2 separate regions of the Homo sapiens genome follow, and region 2 is linked to region 1. The links are contacts of gene promoters, found by promoter capture Hi-C in human tissues and cell types (Jung and others, 2019). All regions are on one chromosome and are shown on one strand. The core of a region is centred on a gene start or on the middle of the fragment in contact, and the rest is flanking DNA. Distances in the headings are between cores, read along the strand shown. Region 1 holds the start of WDR49 (WD repeat domain 49). Region 2 overlaps WDR49 (WD repeat domain 49).

Region 1 (4,850 bases), core at 4-2,503:
TTTATAAATGGGAGTTACCCTGCACATGCTGTCTTGCCTACTGCCATGTAAGTCATGACTTTGCCCTCATTAGCTTTCTGTCATGATTTTGAGGCCTCCCCAGCCATGTGAAATTATGAGTCAATTAAACCTCTTTCCTTTATAAATTACCCAGTCTCAGGTATGTCTTCATTAGCAGTGTGAAAACAGACTAATACATGCAGTATCTGAAGTTTGGGAGCCATTCTGTTCTCTTCCGTATGTTACTATTTGTGTGACCTTTGGCATTTTCTTTGCTTTTTTTTTTTTTCTTTTTTGAGACAGGGTCTCATTCTGTTGCCCAGGCTGGAGTGCAGTGGCACAATCTTGGCTCACTGCAACCTCTGCCCCCCAGGTTCAAGGGATCCTTCTAACTCAGCCTCCCGAGTAGCTGGGATCACAGGTGTGCGCCACCATGCTCGGCTGATTATTTTTGTATTTTTACTAGATACAATGTCTCGTCATGTTGCCCAGGCTGCTCTCGAACTCCTGAGCTGAAGCCATCCACCTGCCTCAGCCTCCCAAAGTGCAGGGATTACAGGCGTGAGCCACCTTGCCCGGCTTTTTGCTTCTTTATCAGTAAAATGGGGATAATGATCACATCTGCCTTGTAGGATTGTTGTGAAGCTTAAACAAGACAATGAACATAAAGTTTTAGTGCCTGGCACATGGTTAATACTCAAAAAATGTTAATTTTTCTTCTTTTTCTCCTCCTTTTCATTATTATTAGCTGAACCAGTAATGACACTGCAAGCAATTTTATCATTAGATTTATCATATTATGTTATGCTGTGTTTTTTTATCACATTTTCAACAAGTTGGAAGCTTTTTTGAACCATCTCTATTTTATATACATAGAAACTAAGACAAAAAGAATATAAGAAACAGATTCCTTTTATATAAAAATAAAACATTTTCTGTGTATAAAACATAAAATTCCAGAATTTCATGCTTTTCTCTTTGACTAATCATATAGTTTCATAATATATATCCTATATAATGGTAAAAGTTGTCTTTAAATAATACAAGATGTCGTTTAATAAAAAATGAGTGGAATGAACTGTCCTTTTATTTCAAAAAAAACCATTTCAACATTTACATTATATATTTAAACTTTCAGTTGGAGAGGGGGAAGTGAAAGGGAAAGTTTTAGTTGGCTTTGTGTTGGTTGCCAGGAAACATACAAAAGGATCAGAACAGATGAAACAAACAACTCCACATTGCTGGGAAGGTGGCATTCAGAGTCAAGTACTTCATTGGTAGGGAAACTCTGCAGCTTTGTCATCTAACTCTTCCAGACAAGAAAGTGGAATTGAAAACTACAACATGTTAATGGAAGCAAGGTTAGTTAAAGAGATTTTTGGGAAGGTGCTTTTCTAATGCATTTAAAATGAGGATTGGAAGTTGTTTTCTGTGTCAGTTACTATAAATGTGGGGAAAGCTTTACACATTTTTAATCAAGCCAGGTTAAACAGAGTATAAGGAAGGGGTAAAAATACCATTTTAAAAGCATTCAACTGTAAATTTTGAAAATAAACTCTAGAATCAAATAAGTGAGAGGGTTGAGGGCTTTCATTTCCTACCTCAGCTTGAACATTTTGCCTCCTGATCGTATGCCTTGAAAGGTTTGTACTTTCATTTTGGAATTCTGTTGCTAAGTTGAGTTTCTTTTCAAAGGCACCTGTTGAAGGAAAAAGAAGATCCATCCTTATAGAAATAGTTGAAGGCAACTGAGAAAAGGTGAAGCCATTATGAGTTGCCAGAAAGCTGTACTTGAGTTAAACATAGGGTCACAGCTTGGGCCAAAGAGTCCTGAGAGAACAGAAGGTGTAACTGCATTTGAAGACTATGGCACAGGCCTGCTTGAAAACCAACTCAGCGTGGGTGACTTTGTAAAAATACAGAAGGCCTTTGAGGTAAGTGTGAAGCTTATTGACCAGATAGTTTGAGTTGTTCATGAAGGAGCCTAGAATGAAACACAGAGATATTTTTCTTTAAGCATTAAAAAAATACACTTAATTGTTATAGCAGAGAATTAAAAATAATTGGTTAGGCCTGGATTTAACACAATGTGCTTGGTAGCTTTGCCCCTCAGTTCTTTGGGCCAAATAATATTCTTTAGTTTGAAATTGCTTCACTGAATTTCATTACTATCAAGAAAGAACTATTTATTGTTGGAAAAAATTTTTTTCTTAGAGATCAACATATTTTGGGGAAACAAAAAATTATGGCTGTGAGTGAAGAAAGCCAGATCTCTAAGGTGACCTCCAGGAATAATTGTTCTTGCATTTAATACGGACATAGAACTCAGCAAATGCAAATATGCATACCCAGTTTGCAAAAAATTTCCTCCTGTCTCACTCACCCTAAGTGGCACAGCTCCTTTTCTAAGCTGATTCTGGCACTTTGTTGTCCCAAGATCCCTTATGAGGGACGAGTCTCCCACTCATTTTGTAAATCCTGGAACAATGCCAATAAAAACAAAATTAGAATTTTTCATTTTAACTCTGCATAAAAAATAAACCATAGGAATTTAACTGTAAATGAATAATTTTCTTCTCTCTTAGTCAATGAATTTTGAATTCTGCAGCTATGCATAATGAACAGCATACATCAAAGTGGTTTTTAGTTTCAAATATGGGTAGAAAGAAGTGCTCTTCCATGACGTAGAATTTAGGTAGTCATGAGCCTCCAACATTTCTACTATATTATGTTTACTAAAGTATGATCTAGGGCCTTCTTAAGATTGTCCGTGGGTGCTTGGAGTATCCATACTAATTTGAAATAGAAAATATTTTGGAATACCACCTGGAAATTAATAAAATATAATAAAAGCTCACAATATATTAGCCTGTAATAGGCACACATTTTTATCTTTGGATATCCACAAAAGAATATAACAAGTTGGGTTCCACCTGTATTGATAAATTAATGTCCCAATAGTATCAATCATTTCTTTATAATAGAACTTATCATATTTAGTAGCAAGACATGCTCTGTCCTACACTTTTCTCATTTCAACCTTCATATATTTGCTATTCAACCAACCTCATTTGTCTGAAAGATTTCACTGCTGCTGCTCATGCCCAGTGCCCCAAGTAAATTTAGCATATTTTGATAGACATAGCAAACATTTTGACAGCTTGAGGACATTCAGTAAAACATAACAGCAGATTATGACAGCTTTGACTCTATAGTGAACAGAAATGTGGCAGTTTTGTTCCGGTGCTAAGAACACAAAGAATTTGAATGCTAGGGCCTATTAGGAGAGTCTACATTATAAAGTTGATGTGTTGGTGAAACTGCTTCAGAAGGTTAGAGGTGGGTGTTCTTTCCAAACTGCAGATTAGTCTTGAATGAACCCAAGTGAAACTGGAAAATTCAACCTCAAGTTTTAATTTATTTCTATTTTATGTTAAATATTTCAAAGGCCAGACCACTTATTTTGACATTACCGGTTGGAAAAGCAGGAACTAATGGACCAAAGAGGAGAAGAGAAGGTAATTCGGAGCTTGTATGAACATAGACAGTTTTTCTAAAAAAGAAATTGAGCTTTGCAGGTGTACCTTCAAAAAAAAAAAATGAAGTTCATCCATTTTAGCAGACTCAACAGCCAGAGAATGGAATAATCCCATGGCACATGTGCAGCCAGTACTAAAAGTTAGACCTTTGAGCCAACATGATTTCCAAACACAGCACGGACACCTAAAGAAGAATGATGCACTAGATGACTTTAATGGTATCCAGTCCATCTGTCATGAGTTTTAGGCCCAGAGGCCACAGGTATAGATTGCTGTAAAAGGATAAAATGCCCTCAATAGCATTCCTGCAACTTTGAACTCTAAAGGCAGTGATTTGTGGTCCAGTTACTAAGGACATGCTCTTAGAAATGTCAAGATTCTGGCACCAGATTCCTTTATATCTTCATTTTTTTTTTCTTACACAGATTGCTTGTTTGGGGCTGAAGAGTTGTCAGATATTAGGTGAAGTCCATCTCCTTAAATAGCAGTGGCAATTCTTAAGTGAAAAAACAGGAAGTTGGGTCTTTGAATTATGCAGTAAATGTTTTACGTGTATTTCCGAATAAAATATCACATACCATACTAATCGTAGTAGTAACATTTAGGAATAAAGCAATTAGTGCTTATGTTCATTGTGCAGTTGTATAAATGGATCAGAATCATGCAGTGTTTCAGATCTAGGAGTCAGATTTCCTGAGCTTAAATCCCGGCTTTGCTACTTACAATGTGACTCTGTGCAAATACTTAATCTCTCTGGGCCTCAGTTTCCTTTATTTCTAACATGAGGATAACAGAGCTTTCATGAAGATTAGAGGAGGTACTATCTGGAAAGCACTTTAAAAAGTGCATGCCACAGAGAGTAAGTGCTCAATTAACATTAGATAATTGAGCTAATTATCTCATTTAGTAAGTAGAAGTTAAACCATGTGACCTCTGACAGTGCCTTGATTCTAATTCATACTTTTCTTAAAGGAAATTAAACTTCAAGTGACACTTGCTGCTATGCGTCTTCATTCCTATTAGTTGTGGAAGGAAGTGGTTAGAGCTGCAAAGACATAAATTCACATAGAAGAGTCAAAAGCATAATTGTTCTATCTCTCATTTCATATTTTCTTAGCAGGCAAAAATTCTAATTGACGTCTTGATTCTTTTCTTTGGAACAAATAAGTTACCTGGGTAGAAGCACAGAAAAGTAACTTGTGGATTTCATTTTCCTTTAAGTGATGGTGTCAAAAGAGCCATATATCAGCCTGAAGGGAGAGAAACTTGCATTATTCATAGAATCGTAAAATGGTTGTTACTCAAACTTCC
Region 2 (4,498 bases), core at 791-3,290, 79 kb after region 1:
ACTTAGTGTGACTCACCCTCTTTGAAATGAAGGGAGCCATGAGAAAATAGAAGAAAAGGAAAAACAATTTTTTAATGTCTATTGAATCTAAAGCAACCTATTTCTTGAGCAAGGATTTAGTGTTTGCCCTCTACTATCCATTGGTAAATGCATGTCATTTATGTGTCTTGAAGGTGTTTGAATAAGAATTTAATATCTGTGGTTATATGAACTTGACCTCATTTAATGCCACTTCTTTTATTTTACCAAAAATACATATATACATATATACACATACATACATATGTATACATATATATCTATCCACACATATATAGATACATGTATCTACACACACATATATACATATATATGTATACACACATGTATATATAGACAGACGGAGAGAGAACTGTATTAGTTTTCTATTGCTAGTGTAATACATGAGCACAAACTTAGTAGCTTGAAACAGCACAAATTTATTTTGTGTTCTGTAGGTTGGAATTTGACATGAGTCTCATCCTTTCTGGTGGCTCTGGGGGAGAAACCATTCCTTTGTCTTTTCAAGCTTCCTTGGATCATGGCCCTCTTCAAAGCCAGCAAGACTAGGAAGAGTCCTCATATTGCACCACTCTGATCATTTTTCTGCCTCCCTCTTTCACATTTAAAGACCCTTATGATTGGACTCACCCAAATAATCCAGGACAATCTCACCATCTCAAAGTCCCTAATTTAGTCATATCTGCAGAATCTCTTTTGCCACCTAAGATAACATATTCACAGGTTCTGGGAATTAGGACATGGACATCTTTGGGGGACTACTATTCTGCCTACAACAAACACTTACTAAATGCCAAGCCTTATACCAGGGACTGAAATAGAACCCAACCCCTTTCCTAGAGGAGCTTACAATTTAGGAGATATTTAAACAGGTGACTGAAATACAAAATAATAGGTGCTATGGCAGAATTGAGAACCAATTATAGCACTGTGGAGGAAACAACTGTCTGCCTGGTATTGAGGGTGAGCTAGAAAAAAAATTGGCTAAAAGATTACAATTATCTTTGACATATTGAAATGATTTTATCACTTTTCATCCAGGTTTTGAGACTCTGGGATATTCAACACCAGCTGTCCATCCAGAGGATAGCTTGTTCTTTCCCCAAAAGTCAGGACTTCAGATGTCTCTTCCACTTTGATGAAGCCCATGGACGACTTTTCATCTCGTTTAATAACCAGCTAGCATTGTTGGCAATGAAAAGTGAAGCCAGCAAGAGGGTGAAAAGCCATGAGAAAGCAGTCACTTGTGTTCTTTACAATTCTATCTTGAAGCAGGTAATGATGCTTTCTTTTCTTTCACTCTCCTAACATATCTCCAAGTCCAGAGGCTCATTTACTTAATTCAGTTTAAGGTAAAATGAAAGACAAATATAGTAAAGGCAAATATGGGAAGAAATGATTTAATAGCCATGTGCTTTTCTGCAATAATATACATTCAGGTGGACTTGGAGAATGATTTCATTTTCAGCCAGTGACCACAGGAGCAGTGATAGAGTTATAAGGAATTACAGCATTCCAGCTAAAACAAAACAACCTGTAATATAATTGAACTTATCTTTGTTATCTGCTAGTCTTGAGCCAAATGCAAGTGAACCTGCTTGTAAAATTCTATGAACACCATCTTCCGGTATCCCTGTGGAAAGTTCTGAAATATGCATGAAACATAATTAGCAGAGATCCATTTTGCCAGCATATTTTACACCAGTGGTTCACAGTGGCAGCCCAGAATGTATTCATAATAAAATGATTCAGTTAAACATGATGCCACTTGGTATGCAGCACAAGTGTTGTTTGTCTCCCCACCAGTTTAATGACGCTCCGCAGCCTTGGCTTAGGGGACCACTACCTGCATCTCAATGAAGAAGCAGGGCTCCCCTGGAGCAGAGTTACTGCGCAGACCACAGCCCTTCTTGGAGGACAGGGCGGCCCAGGCAGTGAAGCCAGTGAGCTCAGTGTGGGGCAGCCTGTGGGTATCATGAAGGGAGCAAGCAACATCAGAGGTTAGCCTGCTGCAGTGATCCCGTCAGGCCTGATGGTAACAGCACAGCAGGAGCCAAGCAGAAGCAAGTCTCCAGCTTACAGCCAATTAAACAGTAACTCAATCCATTCTTTCTTTTCCCTTCTGCAGAAGCTTCTGCATTCACATAGAAATGACTAGTGGAGATTTTGCGCAAGGGGTGGAAAGCCCTTTGTTAGTAATGGGTAGTGTGTCGTGTCACTATTTAAAACACTGTTTTCTGGTTATTCTAGGAGATAAAATCATTTAGAAAACAACTCATTTTGAATTCCATCTGCGGGAAAACATTTCCTGCTAAATGTTTTACTGATCTTTATGAAGGCAACCAGTTAATTTGACTCCCTGGTGGCCACTGAGAGATGTATTTGCTTCCAAGAGAACATTCTCCTAATTGAGATCTGCAAAGTTAAAATGCTAAATTTGTGTGTAGATGTTAAAATCCTATGTTGCCTGGCCATAAGATGAGCAATATTCCCTGAGAAATTCAGGAAATTAGACACAAAGAAGATCTGGATTTATTTGGGGCATAAAGACAAAGCCAAGGTAACTCACATGCATGCCACTTATAGGCAACCAAAGGACAATGTACATATGGTATATGATGTAGGATGTATCATTATACAATTGAGTTGAGTATTTACACCTCTACTTGCTGTGAATAACATAAATAATGATAAGCATTGATATGTATGTAAAGCACATAGAGCTGTGTATCACATACATCAGCATTTCCTATTAGCTGCTGAGTTACAGAAACATGAACATTGTATGTGTTACATTTATAATTATAAAAATGTATTGCAGAAAAGTACAAAGAAAATATCACTCACATTCCCATCAGTCAGTGATAACTTATCATTTTAGAGTAATTAGACAAAGCAAATAACACAGTTTTGAACAAGTGTCGTACCAAGAATGAAGAATTAGAGATAATAAACTATAGTTTCTTGCCCCCAGTAGCTCAGGAAGATTCAACTCTTTAAGGGAAAATCTGGGTCCTAACCATAGTGCTGATGATTGTTGGACAGGTGCTCATCACAGGATTGTGGAATGAAAGAAGGGAAGGGAGACATATTACTAACAAGAAACAGTAGAACATAGTAAAATGAAGTAGAGGTAAAAACCGAAGTGCTTTTTATGGAGAGTGATCAATTCTGCCTGAGGCCAGTGTTGGTCACATTTCAGCAGAGCCCTGAAAGCTAACATCTCTAAAAGGAGGAGGAAGTAGTTCCAGACAGAAGATACAACGTGAGCACCTGCAAAGAAGCTTGAGCACTCACGGTGCATTTTTGGAGAGAGGGTTTATTTTGGTGTGGCAAGTTTGGGAATACTTTGCAGACATCGTGGGAGTTAAAGCAGTAAAGGGATCTTAGGAGCATATTGACGGCCATTTGTTGAATGTATCACTGTCTGGTCTTGGAAACATAAAGCATAGAATTGAGATTAAAACAATGTTTTTCACAGTGTGATCTTGGACCTCTGGGAGACTCAGATTCTCTCAGGGAATCTGGGAGGTCAAAATTATTTTCATCATAATATTAATTTATTGTTTGCTTTCTAAACTTTCACTCTCTCAAAAGTGTACAGTGGAGTTTTCTAGAGGCTGCATGATGTGTGTTGTGTGATAACAGCATTGTTCTTATGGCTAAGGGAATGTGTGCTCTTATATTCTTGTGTTTTAATGTCTCCCTATAAATATCTAATATGGTAAATAAGTATAAAAATACAGATCTATCTATTTGTGTTGTGTGTGTGTGTGTGTGTGTGTGTGTGTGTGTGTGTGTATTCCACATAAAGCTATTTGGATTCTTCAATACTTTTTAAGAATGCAAAGGAATCCCAAGACCAAAAGTTTTCAGAACTGCTGGGTTGGAAACATGTGAATTCAAATACTGGACAGACTGCTTAGCCTGTCTGAGCTTTAGTTTGCCAGCTTCTTAAAATGTGTGTGTCTGTGGGGGTGTAGGAATAGTAATGGGAATAGCACGTGCCTCCCTGGCATTGCCTTGTTAGGACTGAAATCTTGGAAGTGTCCTCTTGTCTCCCATGCTGCCAGCCCTGTAAGGGTCTTTAAAGTCCCCCATACCAAAGAGGGCGAATGTTGCTGCTTTATGACATCTCCTTTTCTTATTAACTTCTTAAGATTCCTTAATCTTTATTTTAACAATGTGGCATGTGATGACAAATGTTAGGAAGAATTAGAAAGGGGAGGGTACCCTGAACTGCAGTTTTTCCCTACCTCTGCTTCTCCTCAGGAATGTCCCTTGAGGTGGGAAAGTTGTTTATCCTCCTCCTTCTCTTCTTCGCCATTGCAGTTTCGTCTTGTAAACATTTAGTGGCAAGACTCAGCTTTGGTCCTCAGCTCCCTGAAGTCTCCAGAGCCATCTCAACCCACACTTACTTCTCCTCTTCCTGAGCATTGGTCGCATTTTTTAGTTGTTT

What was found. The method cuts DNA at HindIII sites, captures the fragments that hold promoters and counts their contacts. A contact is called where the count stands out against the background at its distance.
Region 2: a fragment that was not itself captured here is called in contact with the fragment with the promoter of WDR49 in region 1 in 2 of the 25 tissues and cell types used here (aorta and hippocampus).

Annotation. Positions count from the first base shown.
Region 1 is chr3:167,650,345-167,655,194 of GRCh38, reverse strand. WDR49 (WD repeat domain 49) reads left to right here and starts at 1,253. Exons shown (of 19, transcript NM_001366157.1): 1 at 1,253-1,361; 2 at 1,696-1,934. The coding sequence starts at 1,770. RefSeq lists enhancers at 993-1,515, 1,516-2,039. The HindIII fragment of the contact is 2,457 bases long and covers 1-1,703 here.
Region 2 is chr3:167,572,734-167,577,231 of GRCh38, reverse strand. WDR49 (WD repeat domain 49) reads left to right here. Exons shown (of 19, transcript NM_001366157.1): 8 at 1,081-1,314. Among named protein-coding and RNA genes, the nearest start is that of WDR49, 79 kb to the left of the region's middle. The HindIII fragment of the contact is 4,395 bases long and covers 1-4,237 here.